Linked DNA regions of Homo sapiens: region 1 is linked to region 2. Evidence: promoter capture Hi-C in 16 types of primary human blood cells and fetal thymus (Javierre and others, 2016). All regions are on one chromosome and are shown on one strand. Each heading gives the region's core, a stretch centred on a gene start or on the middle of the fragment in contact. The rest is flanking DNA. Distances are from core to core; before and after follow the strand shown. Region 1 overlaps GALNT1 (polypeptide N-acetylgalactosaminyltransferase 1). Region 2 holds the start of ZNF396 (zinc finger protein 396).

Region 1 (7,067 bases), core at 1,929-4,428, 270 kb after region 2:
CTGATCATATTGAAAATATGCATACTGTGCCACCTAACAACCATACGTATATACTTTAGATCAGGGGTCGGTGTGATGACTCATGAGTTAAGAATGGTTTTTAACATTTTTAAGTGCTTAAAAAAAATAATATTTTGTAATTTATAGTGTGAAAATTATATGAAATTCAAATTTTGGTGTCCAAAAATAAGCTTGGAATATTGTCACATTCATTTATGTACCTCTTACAGATGCTTTCATGGTACAACACTAGAGTTAAGTTGTTGCAACAGACATTGCATGACTCAAAAAGCCTGAAATCTTTATCATCTGGCCCTTTGCAGAAAATATTTACTGACCTCTTCTCTAAATAAATACTCTTGCACATGCGTACTAGTAGACATGTTCAGGAATGGTCATAGCAGTATTGCTTGTAATAACGGAAACCTAGAAAGAACCCAAATGTCTGTTAAGAGTAGAGAAATAGGTTTGCTAAGCCAGCGGAATACTATTCAGTAGTGAAATGGAATTGGATGCATGGATGGATCCAAGCATATGGATAAATCTCAGAAACAGTGTTAGAAAAAAGCAAGTCAGGTTTTTCCACTTATAAGCACTTCAGAAACAGTCAAGTATAAATAAGGCATTGTTAAAGATACTCGTGAGGTTAAATTATCAGGACAAGGAAGGACCGTAAGAATAGGGATTGCCTTTGAAGAGTTGGGGAAGAGATGGGATTTGAGAGGGAACTTTAAAAATCATGTTCTTATTGTTAAACCAGGTGGTGGAGATGTGTGTTGTGTTGTGATCATTTATTTCCGTGACATGTTTTATACGTACTCTTTTGATATTTTATAAGTTTTTGTGATCTGGGGCATTAAAAAGTATCTTTTCAAATAGTATAGTCTGTCTCATAATATATAATTATGACCCACAGAGTGGAAGCTCATCAGCAGACTAGAAGCTGCTTTTTACCTATTGCCCCCTCTTCCCTGGTTCCCCAAGCATTCTGGTTGTGTCAGGAACCCAATTCAGATTTTCTTAAGCAGAAAAGGGGACTAATAGGATTCCTCGTTGGGTCACTGAAGCCAAGGAAGAGTCAGGGACTTGGTCACTGTCAGGGTGCTCTGCCACTCATCTGTATGTCTCTGCTTGGCCACATTGTTTTTGGCTGCAAGTGGCCTTCTCCATGTCGGGGGCAGTGTGACTGAGCGCAGTCCTAGAGCACAGCCTTCCAGGTCTGTGACTCAGGCCAAGGAGTCAGGTCCTGTGGTCAGCCTGGCTAGGTCATACTGTGGCCAGGCAACTGGATCTGTTACCAGAAGAAACCTTTTGAGGAGGGGAGGAGAGGTTAAGGGTCAGAATCATGAGCCCGGCAGCCACTTCTGTTTGTAATGGTTACATATGTATTAATTGTAAAGCAATATGTGTGGCATTTTGTCACACCTTTGTGTGGATATCAGGGCTGTTTTGATGTTAACGCTAAGATGTTGCCTAAGACATGGCACTGAGACATGGCCGAGGTGGGAAGAGGGGTTAGAAATGTCTGTTGAGCATATTATTACCTGTTAAAAATAAAAATACAGCATGATCAGCTCTCCTACCACTTTATAGTCACACCTGTCTCCTTCCCTTCTTCCCATAAGGACATTTAAGGCATTAAGTACTTGAGTCTAAATAGATGTTACAAACTTGGTTTAAAACATAACACATATCTGGCTGGGCACGGTGGCTCACGCCTGTAATCCCAACACTTTGGGAGGCCGAGGCAGGCAGATCACGAGGTCAGGAGATCGAGACCATCCTGGCTACCACAGTGAAACCCCATCTCTACAAATTCAAAAAATGAGCAGGGCGTGGTGGCAGGCACCTGTAGTCCCAGCTACTCGGGAGGCTGATGGCAGGCACCTGTAGTCCCAGCTACTCGGGAGGCTGAGGCAGGAGAATGGCGTGAACCGGGGAGGTGGAGCTTGCAGTGAGCCGAGATCGTGCCACTACACTCCAGCCTGGGCAACAGAGTGAGACTGACTCAAAAAAAAAAAAAGAAAAAAAAACACATATCTACTATTCTGAATGACTGGAAGGGCATTTAACCCATTGGTGTTTCATTGGGATGCAAATTTGTAGGGAGTTTGTATCTTTTGCTTTTCTGTTTGCCAGGTTCTTTGTTTTGAACATACATTACTTTACAAACAGGAAAAATATAAACTTTTAAAGGTATTGGTGGAAGTCAGTTTGTCATCTTAAAAACTGACATTCCACTCAAGACACTAAACACTGTATTCTCTAATTTGAAACATTCGAGCCAATAAATTTTATAGGAGTTTATTTACATCATGACTACCCCAAATGATAAGCTTGTTCTTCTGACCTCTAAACTTGAGATAACACCCGGGAAATAACTACAGAAAGAGAATATCCAGGTTTTAATGGAATGTGGACATCAATCTGGGCAGGAATTTTGGATTGATTATTTGCTAATTTTTTGTTAAATACTTATGTTGAATAAGAAGATTCCAAGACCTGAAAATTGGTTCTCCTTTTTCTTTGGCTATCGAATAAGGCTTCTCAGTGCTAAATTTCGATCAGTAACCACTTGACAGCTCAAAAACTGTGGCAGAAGTATTGGCCTGAACACTTTATAGGAAGCTGGGAATATAAATTGAAGCCTACGAGACTGGAGCCGTACTCACTTTGGCTACTAGGGGTAAGCCAGAATAGCTGCTACTTGGTTTTGACAATTTTGGCTTCAGTTATCTTTCTACATATTCACTTTTATATTGCTATAAGGTAGGATCCAAGTTTATTTTTTAATTATATGGAAAGCCACTTGTCCCTGCACCAATTTTCTTTGTAGTAGCATCTTTTTAGTTTTTCACACTTGTATGGATTTGTTTTGGGTTACCATATGGTTTTAAGTACGTCTGCTTTATAATTCAGTCCAGGCCAGGCGTGGTGACTCACACCAGTAATCCCAGCACTTTGGGAGGCTGAGGCGGGCGTATCACTTCAGGTGACGCGTTTGAGACCAGCCTGGTCAACATGATGAAACCTCTTCTCTACTAAAAATACAAAAATTAGCTAGGCATGGTGGCATGCACCTGTAGACCCAGCTACTTGGGAGGCTAAGGCAGGATAATTGCTTGAACCCAGGTGGCAAAGGTTGCAGTGAGCCAGGATCACACCACTGCACTCCGGCCTGGGTGACAGAGCAAGACTCTGTCTCAAAATAAATAAATAAGTAAATGAATAAATAAATAAATAAATCCATTCCCCAAAGCCTCATTTGGGTTTTGATAAGAATTATATTGAATTTATAGATTAATTTTGGGAATAACCTTGTATTCATTTTCTCATCTATTCATTAGTTAGTTATTCTTTTGTATCCTTCAATAAAGCTCCACAGTTTTCTTCACCTCTTGCACCTGTTGGGTTTTCATAGCTATTTTGAATGTTTTTTTTTTTTTTTTTTTTTTTTTTCTGGGAGATGGAGTCTCGCTCTGTTGCCCAGGCTGGAGTGCAGTGGCGCAATCTCAGCTCACTGCAAGTTCTGCCTCCCAGGTCACACCATTCTCCTGCCTCAGCCTCCTTCCCAAGTAGCTGAGACTACAGGCGCCCGCCACCATGCCCGGCTAATTTTTTGTATTTTTAGTAGAGACGGGGTTTCACCGTGTTAGCCAGGATGGTCTCGATCTCCTGACCTCCTGATCCGCCCGTGGCCTCCCAAAGTGCTGGGATTATAGGCGTGAGCTGCCGCACCTGGCCGGTTTATTTTATATATTCTAAATAGTTATAACTACCATATAGGAGCACGACTGATGTTATATGTTCATCTGTAGTCATCTGCCTTATGAAATCAATAATTAGCTCTAATGGTTTATCTTTTGATTCTTAAATAATTTCTATGTAGAAATCATACCATCTGCAGATGATAATTTTGTTTTTTTCCCCCTAATCCTTAATTCATTTTCTTATCTGTTGCTTGGACCTTCAGTACAGTGTCAGACTGAAGTGAGGATACATAACTTGCCTTATTTTAACTGAAGCTTCATCATTAAATATGATGTTTATTGTAGATTAAAGAATTCCCTTTCTAGTTCTAGTTTGCTGTTGAAGTTTTCGGTTGCTGAGTAATGAATTACCTAAAAATTTAATGGCTTTAAGCAATGAAGTTATTATCTCATATTTTCTTTGGGTCAGGAATGGAAGAGCAGTGTATTAGTTCATTTTTACACTGCTATGAAGAACTACCTGAGACTCGATAATTTATGAAGAAAAGGGGCTTAATTGACTCACAGTTCCACGGGCTTACCAGGAAGCATGACTAGGAGGCCTCAGGAAACTTACAATCATGGCAGAAGGTGAAGGGGAAGCAAGCATGTCTTACCATGGAGGAGCAGGAGAGAGAAAGAGGTGGGGGAAGTGCCACACATTTGTAAACCATCAGATCTCCTAAGAACTCACTCACTATCCCGAGAACAGCAAGGGGGAAATCTGCCCCCATGATCCTTTTACCTCCCACCAGGTCCCTTCCCCAATACTGGGGATTACCATTCAACATGAGATTTGGGTGGGGACACCGAGCCAAACTATATCAAGCATCTTAGCAGGATATTGGCTCAGGATCTTTCATGAGGTTGTACTCAAGATGTCAGCTGGAGCTGCCGTCATCTGAAGGCTTGCCTGGGGCTGCTTTCAAGGGGGTCTCACTTTCATGCCTGGCAGCATAATGTTGGTTGTAAGCAGGAGGCTTCAGTTTCTTACTATGTGGACCTCTGCATAGGAATGCTTAAGCATCCTTCTGACATGGCACTGGCCTTCCCCAGAGTGTGATCAGAGAGAGTGCTGGGGGAGGCCATAGAGTGTTTAATGACTCAGTCTTCACTTCCATCATATTCTGTTGGTTAGAAGCAAGTCACTAAGTCCAGCCCACACTCTAGGAGGAAGTTAAATGATACAAAAAGTATTTTGTGTGTTTCTTTTAGTCTGTCTGCCCTACAGAGTAGCATAAGTCAAGGGCTTCTGTCTGGATATCTTTACCTCAGGCCTCTCCTTTGAGCCCTGTGTATATCCAAGCAGCCATGGTAGCATCTCTCATTGAAGGTTCAAAGGCACCTCATACTCAACATGTCCCAAATCACACTTAACGTTTCTTCCCATCTTCTCCTCCCCTCCAAAAATTGGTCCTTTTTCACTGGTCCCCATTTCCATGATTGACACCTTTCTCTGTCCAGCTGTACAAGCTAGGATTGAGTTTGTCCCATCGTATCTCTTGTATCTTCCCACTTTTATCATCTCCAGCTTCATCTCACATCACAGTTTCCTTTTCTTTTTCTTCAGTTCACTAGCTTTTCAGTGTTGGGCTCCTTTCTGCTGTAGAGCCTTTACTATTCACTGCCTGTAATGCTTATTTTCCCTCAAACCATGTCTTTCTTAGGGAAGCCTTTTTGACAAAGTCAAATCTATTATAGATGTGTGTAGAGCTGTGTACCTTCTTTCAAAGCAGTTATCACAATTGGAATTTCACATTTATATGATTATTAACGTCTGCTTCCCTGGAGCCAACTCTGAACTTCATAAAGTCAGGGAGTGTGTGCATTTTGTTCACCCTTGTATTCCCTGCATTTGACACATTCCCTACATTTACTGTTTGGGTGACTGAATGAGTTAATAAGTGAATTAATACATTGATTATAGTTCTGTTTGAGAAATAGAGCAAATAGAATATAAAATTAATAAAATAATCTAGGCTCTTTTATTTGTATTGGAGGATAACACTTGTCTTTTTTAAGTCTTTTAGTTTTCTTGGCAGAAACTCTAGCTGTTAATTAAATAAATAGATTTGTCGAAGGTTCTCATATGTAATACCTCTGTCTGGTTAGTATGATGTAAAACTAGTGATCCTGGCTGTGGGTGGCTGGGAGACTGCTGTGTTCTCAGGAGAGAGGAGTAAAGCTAGGATCCAAGAGAATGAAGCTTTGTTTTCTCAGAAAGTTACTATCCAGCTGAGATTCTCTCAAACTTTCTGGAGAGCTTTGGTTAGAAATATGAGGGGTAGGAGAAAATCATTTGGCCGTAGAAAATACTGATTAATCTTTGGGAAAATTTGGCATGTGATATTAAGAATAGGATCAGGGTTAGGCGTGGTGGTGCGTGCCTGTAATCCCAGCAGTTTGGGAGGCCGTGGTGGGTGGATCACTTGAGACCAGGAATTCAAGACCAGCCTGGGTACAAAGTGAGAACCTGTCAAAAACAAAAAGAGAAGAAGAAGAAGAAGAAGAAGAAGGAAGGGAGGAAGTGAGGAAGGGAGGAAGTGAGGAAGGGTGGAAGGGAGGGAGGAAAGGAGGGAAGGAAAGAGGGAGGGAAGGAAGGAAGGGAGGGAGGGAGGGAGAGAGGATTGGATCAGAAGTTTACTGATATGCAAATGGGCCCTGACTTAAGATTTTTTGACTTTGTGAGAGTGTAAAACCATCACAATTTATGTGTAAGTATGGTATTCAGTAAATTGCATAAGATATTCAACACTTTATTGTAAAATAAGCTTTGTGTTAGATGATTTTGCACAACTATATGCTAATGCAAGTGTTCTGAGCACATTTAAGGTAGGCTAGGCTAAGCTATAATGTTCTGTTGGTTAGTTGTATTAAAGGCATTTTCGACTTTCGACTTAAGATGTTTTCAACTTATGATGGGTTTATTGGTACATTACCCCATCATAAGTCGAGAAGCATCTGTAATTAATCACTATACTTTGATATTAACTCTAATTTTATAACTTTAAAAATAAGTAGTTAAATGCATTTCAAATGGAAGGTTTTAACTTATGTGGTTGGGACAAAATAAGCAACTTTTAGTTACTTCCAAAATGAATTCTGGTATGTGTCTTTTGAGAAAACATAAAACAGTTTCTCTCTTTGTAAAACTGGCATTGTTTCTTTGAGGTATCCTCTCCCCCATGTTTGTTTATTTTTAAGTTGATTGAGATTGAATTTATATACAGTAAAATTCATCATTTTAGGTTCAGTTGTATAAGTTTATACAGTGGACACAGTTGTATGACCCCCAGCCCAAGAAAGTTATGGAATGTT
Region 2 (6,683 bases), core at 3,903-6,402:
GGTAGGATGTGGTTCTTGCCACACCTGGCTTTGAGGTTGATCACTTCTGTAGTCACCACCACACCAAGCTGCTGAGGCTGGGATGGTCTCCCTCCCTTTCCTGACGGAAAATACTTTTTCGTGAAAAGACTTTCACTTTTCTAAGTATACCAAGACAATTTCTAGACTGGAGGTATTACGTGTCCCAGTATAAGCCTTCAGAGAGCCAGTACTTGCCAAGTTAGGGTGAACAATGTTTTCTAAATCTCTTTCTAAATTACTGTATTTCCTTTGTGTAGTTTCTTATAAAAATTCCCTTGGAAAAACTCTAACCTTGCTTAGCTATCAGCCACTCCTGAACTATGGAAGCAGTGCTGGAGAGAAGGAAGGAGATGCTCCCAAGTAGGATTTCCCTCTTAATCTCTGGCTCCTATTTTATCCAGGATGATCATCTAGAAGGAGGGTCTCTGCTCAAATGTCGCTTCATCAGAGAGGCCTTTCTACCACTCTATATAATAAGATCCTATCCCCACCATTCTGTTTAAAGTAGCATGGCCCTTTTATCAAATGAAATTTTACATTGAGTTCCAATATATAAAACAGACGAAAACACAGCTACTCTGTCTGAAGCAGGAGCAGTCACAGCCTACAAGGCCTCTAACTCAGCCTTATTTCTACTTCTCACCTTCCCTCTAGCCCCCTTATTCTGTTTTGTTTTTATTTTTTCCCCATAGCACTTATTTGTTTAGTATCTGCAATGGAAGAATAGATTGCTACACAGCTATTCTGGAGCACTTATAGAAAGCAATGCAAAGAGCAGTTGAGGCCAGTTGAAGATGTGAGGGAGTAGAGAAGTGTATTCAAAGCACGTATGAGAGCAAAGTCACCTTAGCAGCAATATAGGCGATTCTGCTACGAGATCCCACCAGTAACTGAGCAGTTATATAGGAAATGATGATGAGGATCAGTGGTCTCTGGGCTGTGTACCTTGGGGTCCCACAGAAAGGCCTCAAGGGCTGCCTGAAGATAAAAGGGCTACTTTAAAAAGGCATGAAAACCCTGATGCAGATGTCAGGGATTTAAAGTCTGAAGATTTTATAAGAATCTCTGAAAAAGAAGCAAGAACAAAATACTGAAGATCTTCATTTAGTAGGACAAATAACAGAAGTTCCCACAGTAAGGAGGAGATGAGAGGGGGAGATTTGAGGCCTCTTGCATAAATCAGCTGAGATGTGTGTGGTGAGCAGAGGGCCCCCACACCTTCCAACATGAACTGAATCCTGCCCCCTCACCATGTGGTCTTAAGGACTGAAGCTCCCATGATGCTCCCTGGAGCTGCTTCTTCACGGGCATGAGCTGGCTACTTGGCAATTCCTCAGTGATTTCTGAAGGTGCTAGCTTCTCTGCAATCATGTCCTTCCTTCGTCCAAAAAAGATCTAAAAACAGGAATAATTGAGGCTGAAGAACACCATCAGGTTGGGACTTGAGGATAAAATAACAGAGAAGAAACTATGCAAAAAGTATCATGGACACAGGAAAAGGGAGGGAAAAAGTAGAGCCACCTTCTATTTGCTGGGACACCCATTAGTACTTTCACCCCTATACATCCAGTTGTGCTGAGTGGGAATACAGTTTGAGAGCTCTACTCCCAATGATGTGCCAGTGCTCTTGACTCAGCCTGGGGGTTCATCTCCACAGGCATCCTTCTTACCTGCTTTGGTCCATCAAGCTCTCTCTCCACATCCTCCAGCATAGTCACAGTTTCCTCTCCATTCTCTGGATGATGCTTCTGCACCCAGGCCTGAAGCTCTTTTGGGAGGATGGCCAGGAACTGCTCCAGCACCAGCAGCTCCAGGATCTGCTCCTTGGTGTGCACTTCCGGCCTCAGCCAGAGATGACAAAGTTCCCAGAGCCGGCTCAGAGCCTCATGGGGCCCAGGTGAATCCTGGTAGCCAAACTGCCTGAATTGCTGGCGGAAGGTCTCTGGGCTGTAGCTGCTGCTCCAGTGGAGGCTAGAGTCTGGATCACAGGTCTGCTCTTCCTCTTCCATCTTCTCTGTCAGAATCCCATTACACTCCTCTGAAGTTTGTGTTAGGAGTGATGATGACTTTCCCAATTTTGCAGACATTTTGACAGACAAATAGCTCAGTACTGTTAGGCTTTAATCCTCAAGGAGGTGAAGCTGTCCTGATGGACACTCCTTAAATATGATTAAAGAAACAAGTGGAAAGAAGACAAAAGACAAATGCTTCTTAGAACAAAACAACTAAGATTAGAAACATAAGACTGTATAGGAACTACTGACCTTAGTCTTAACAGAAACCATGCTTTTATTTATTTATTTATTTTTGAGATGGAGTCTTGCTCTGTTGCCCAGGCTGGAGTGCAATGGTGTGATCTCGGCTCACTGCAACCTCTGCCTCCTGGGTTCAAGTGATTCTCATGCTTCAGCGTCCTAAGTAGCTGGGACTACAGGTACCCGCCACCACGCCTGGCTAATTTTTGTATTTTCAGTAGAGACAGGGTTTCACCACGTTGGCCAGGCTAGTCTCGAACTCCTGACCTCAGGTGATCCACCCGCCTTGGCCTCCTGAGGTGCTGGGATTACAGGCTTGAGCCACCACGCCAGGCCCAGAAACCATGCTTTTGAAGAATACTTCTTTAAGAGAACCAAACAGCTAAGACTCATTAATTCATATGCATAAGTGATTCACAATTCATTCTGAAAACCATGCCCACAAGGCTACTGAATATTACAATAAGAGATCAGCCAGGATTGCATAGAAGCTCCCAGATAATGGAAATAAGGGAAGCCTGAGAAATGCTCTAACTCTGGAGCCAGTTCAAAGAGCCAATCGGTATTTAGTGTGCTGCAAAGAGCTCAAAGAAATAGTCTCATGAGGGAAGCACTTTTGTGTGACTTTTTTCAGCTTTTACTGTTAAAACATTACTTCGACATTAAAGGAACCATTAAAAAAAAAATAAACCAATCAGCTGGGCACTGTGCTTATGCCTGAAATCCCAGCACTTTGGGAAGCCGAGGTGGGAGATGGGAGGATCACCTGAGCCCAGGAGTTTGGGACCAGCCTGTGCAACATAATGGGACCCCATCTCTACCCCACCAAAAAAAAAAAAAAAAGAAAAAACAACAAAAAAGGCAATCACGTTCCTTCATCTGAATGTATTTCTATTTTTTTCCATATCCATATTACTTACTTAACTATTTTAAAATACTTAGGTTGTTTCTAATTTCACTATTATAATTAATGCTGGGAGGCACATCTTTATGAATATACTGTTTTTCTCCTTTCAAAGTATTTCTTTCAAGCATGTCCCAAGGCCTCTGCTTGTTGAGGATCAAAGGAGAAGAGCAAATTCTGTCTTGCTATGTATTATCAAAATATTGCACAAAGACTGTATCAATTCACAATACCATCACAATCATAGTGACTTGTGAGGGCAACGATTTCTTCAAGTATTATTAGCTCGTTAGCAACAAAGTTGGGGGGGGACGGCACTTTCCTTTGTATCATTTTACTGTTAAGTATCACCAGTAACTAATCTCATTTTGTTGTTGTTGTTGTTTTGTTTTGTTTGAGACAGAGTCTGGCCCTGTTGCCCAGGCTGGAGTACAATGGCGGGATCTTGGCTCACTGCAACCTCTGCCTTCTGGGTTCAAGCGATTCTCCTGCCTCAGCCTCCCAAGTAGCTGGGATTGCAGACGTGTACCACCACGCCCGGCTAATTTTTATAATTTTAGTAGAGACGGGGTTTCACCATGTTGGCCAGGCTGGTCTCGAACTCCTGACCTCAGGTGATCCCTCTGCCTCGGCCTCCCAAAATGCTGGGAGTACAGGCGTGAGGCTCTGCACCCGGTCTAATCATATTTTTTAAATTGGGCAGGAGGTATATGATAGTGTTTGTACAACTTCAGCAAATGATGACTACTTTAAAAATCTTACGTGCGCCTCCGTCTTCCATCGTTATGTATCCTGCCATTTGACTTATTTTCTCACTTCACCAAGTATTGTTCTAGGCCCTGTATAAAGCCTGTGAGTTCATAAAGTTGTTACCAAATAAATGATACAACTTTACACAATGATGTGCTATGAAACAAACAATAGCAGACACACATATTAACAGAATTTACTATGTGCCAAGCACTGTTTTGAACACCTTAGTAAAAATAAACAAAGGTTAAATCCTCATAAAAGCCCTAGATTATTTTTACCCCCATGTTGTAGACGGGGAAGCAGTCACAGCAAAGCCAGGTACTCTGGCCAAGGGCAAAGCTGGGGTCTGAACCCAGGCCGTCCACATTTATCCATGGTGCTGTGTGGTTAGAGGCCATAGGCAGCAGGGGCCCTTGTGGTGACCCCTGCGCGTTGTCTCAGCGCAGAGGAGGAAGTGGCGGCAGGCAGCCGCGCTCCCAGATGAAGCGGGGCCAGAAGAGTCTGGGGAACAAGACCTGAGAGGTGGGAAGGGTTGAGGCCACCGGTTTGGAGCCGTCAGGTACCCTAAGGGATATATGAGGGACCCCGGGGCTAAAGCAGCCTCTGGAAGAGAGTGGCCGCCCTGTCACTTCAGCACCAGGCGCAGAATCTGTGCTAAACCTGAGGTGAGGGTAAGGAACCCCCGACACCGCACGACAACCAGAAAGAACGTCCCTGGAGGGGAGGCTTCGATCAAAGCCTGGGACGCAGGGGTCTTTCTGCAGGGGACGCCGCTCTCGGCTCTACCCTGCTGTGGTGGGCCGGCTCTGGGAGGGCTGGCTTCCGACCATCTCCCGACCTCCCGCGCCCACCGCGCCGCGCCGCGCGCCTCCCAGGCTGGGAACCGCCGGGGCGAAGCGGCAGGTGGCGCGGGTTCACCTGGCAGGGCAGGCGCCCGGGGTCCGCCGGGGAAGGACGAGGGGAAGGGGTGCGCGGACTCAGGGGCAGGCAGCGGAGGGGAGGGGCCTGGGGATCTGGGACGGTGTAAGGGTGCTGCACTTGCGCGCGAAGGGAGGGGTGGCGACGAGTCCGCGGCCGCCTCTCCGCGTCCCCCTTCCACCACCCGGGGACCACCGCCTCTGACCGCAGCCTGGGGGCCCTAAAGAGGCCTCGGGTCTCACCTCCCGACGCCGTCGGGGAGAAACCGGGGAACTGCCAGCTGCGCAACAACTTCCGGTTCTGGTGGCGGGTCGGGGCGGGGCCCGGAACGCGGGGACGTTGCCATGGAGAAGAGCCGCTGTGGCCGCGCACTTGGGACAGGGAAAGAGAACCGGGAGGCTCGACCGGTGGGAATCCAGCTGCTCTGCTCAGTGTTCCGTTCAATAAACTAGCATTGTTGCTTCGCAAAGTGCTTTTGCTTACATTATTCATTTACTCCGGTAACTCAGTAAGGTTATTCCCATTTTACAGAAAATAAACTCAAATGTCCTGTGACTTGCCAAGGATTACAGAGAGGGGCGAATGCTGTGCTGTCTACCGCTGAGTACAATCCCTAATACCATTCCCACTCCCGAAGTGGTTACACCCCAAGTACTGACGTTTTAAGGGACAAGTTTGACATCCGCAACCCCATGCTTTCACAGGAGAACACAATGGCCCTTGAAAAAGTGAGAACTGACCCACATAAAATTTGTTACAATACATACACATATCTCTCCTCAGATAATCTTAATCTCAATTGAAAAATAAGTTTGAGGCCGGGCGCGGTGGCTCATGCCTGTAATCCCAGCACTTTGGGAGGTCGAGATGGGCAGATCACATGAGCCAAGGAGTTCGAGACCAGCCTGGCCAACATGGCTAAACCGCATCTCTACAAAACATACAGAAATTAGCCGAGTGTAGAGACGCATGCCTGTAGTCCCCGCTTCTTGGGAGGCTGAGGGGTGAGGATCACCTCAATCTGGGGAGGTGGAGACTGCAGTTAGCCATGATTGCGCCACTGCCCTCCAGCCTGGGCTGCAAAGTGAGAGCGTCTCAAAAAATAAATAAATAAATAAATTTAAGCCTAAATGCACCACAGCCCCACCTCGTGACTTCCTTCTCTAGCCCCTTTCCCTAGGGACTCCTGGAAAATGTACTTGTACTCGTAACTGAGGAATTAGGGAGAGGACGGAGATGCTTGAAAAGCACTTGCTAATTAATAAAGAACAATAACAAAAAATCCCTTTTGGTATGACGCCGCCCCAAAAGTATGTTAGTACTGGAATCTGAAGTGAAGAAAGAAGAGGCTGGTTTACTCAGTTTATGACGCTAGGGGACTAGGGAGAGGTTTGGATCCCAATTAGAGTACAGTAAAACTAAATCTGAAGAAATTCTTGCTTCAAACAAGGGGCTTTCACAGGATAAGACTTTTTGCTGATGCAGCTGCCAACACAAATAGCAAACAGCCCAAAAGTGCAGGTGGGAATGTGTTTCTGGCGCTGGTGGGTAGGGTAGGTTAAATGACTCACGTCAGGGGAGAATTTGAAACGAGGGCAAGGCTTGGCAGTGGTGTGAAGTCACAGGAGACAATTTAAGGAGAATATGAACGACAGTCAGAAGCTTCAAGGAGAAGGAGGAACTGTGGGATGTGGCAAGAGGTCAGGGATGATGAATTCATGGGTATGGTCCACCAAACAGCCAGATATCAGAGGCCAAAGTTAAAAACAGCAACAACAAAAAAGGGAGCAGACATAAAAGATTGATTAGAAAAGTTTCACAGTCAGGTAGTT

Evidence for each region. Contacts are between HindIII fragments. The CHiCAGO score rates a contact against its expected background, and 5 or more counts as called.
Region 1: a contact is called between a fragment that was not itself captured here and the fragment with the promoter of ZNF396 in region 2, in 1 of 17 cell types (M0 macrophages). The highest score is 5.1, in M0 macrophages.

The regions. Positions count from the first base shown.
Region 1 is chr18:35,641,786-35,648,852 of GRCh38, forward strand. The region is part of intron 1 of GALNT1 (polypeptide N-acetylgalactosaminyltransferase 1); the gene reads left to right. Among named protein-coding and RNA genes, the nearest start is that of MIR3975, 54 kb to the left of the region's middle. The HindIII fragment of the contact is 1,689 bases long and covers 2,335-4,023 here.
Region 2 is chr18:35,372,185-35,378,867 of GRCh38, forward strand. It overlaps ZNF396 (zinc finger protein 396), which reads right to left and starts at 5,153. Exons shown (of 4, transcript NM_001322286.2): 1 at 5,094-5,153; 2 at 1,692-2,180; 3 at 1,272-1,416. The coding sequence starts at 2,108. RefSeq lists silencers at 4,669-4,858, 4,869-4,938. The HindIII fragment of the contact is 6,702 bases long and covers 1-6,511 here.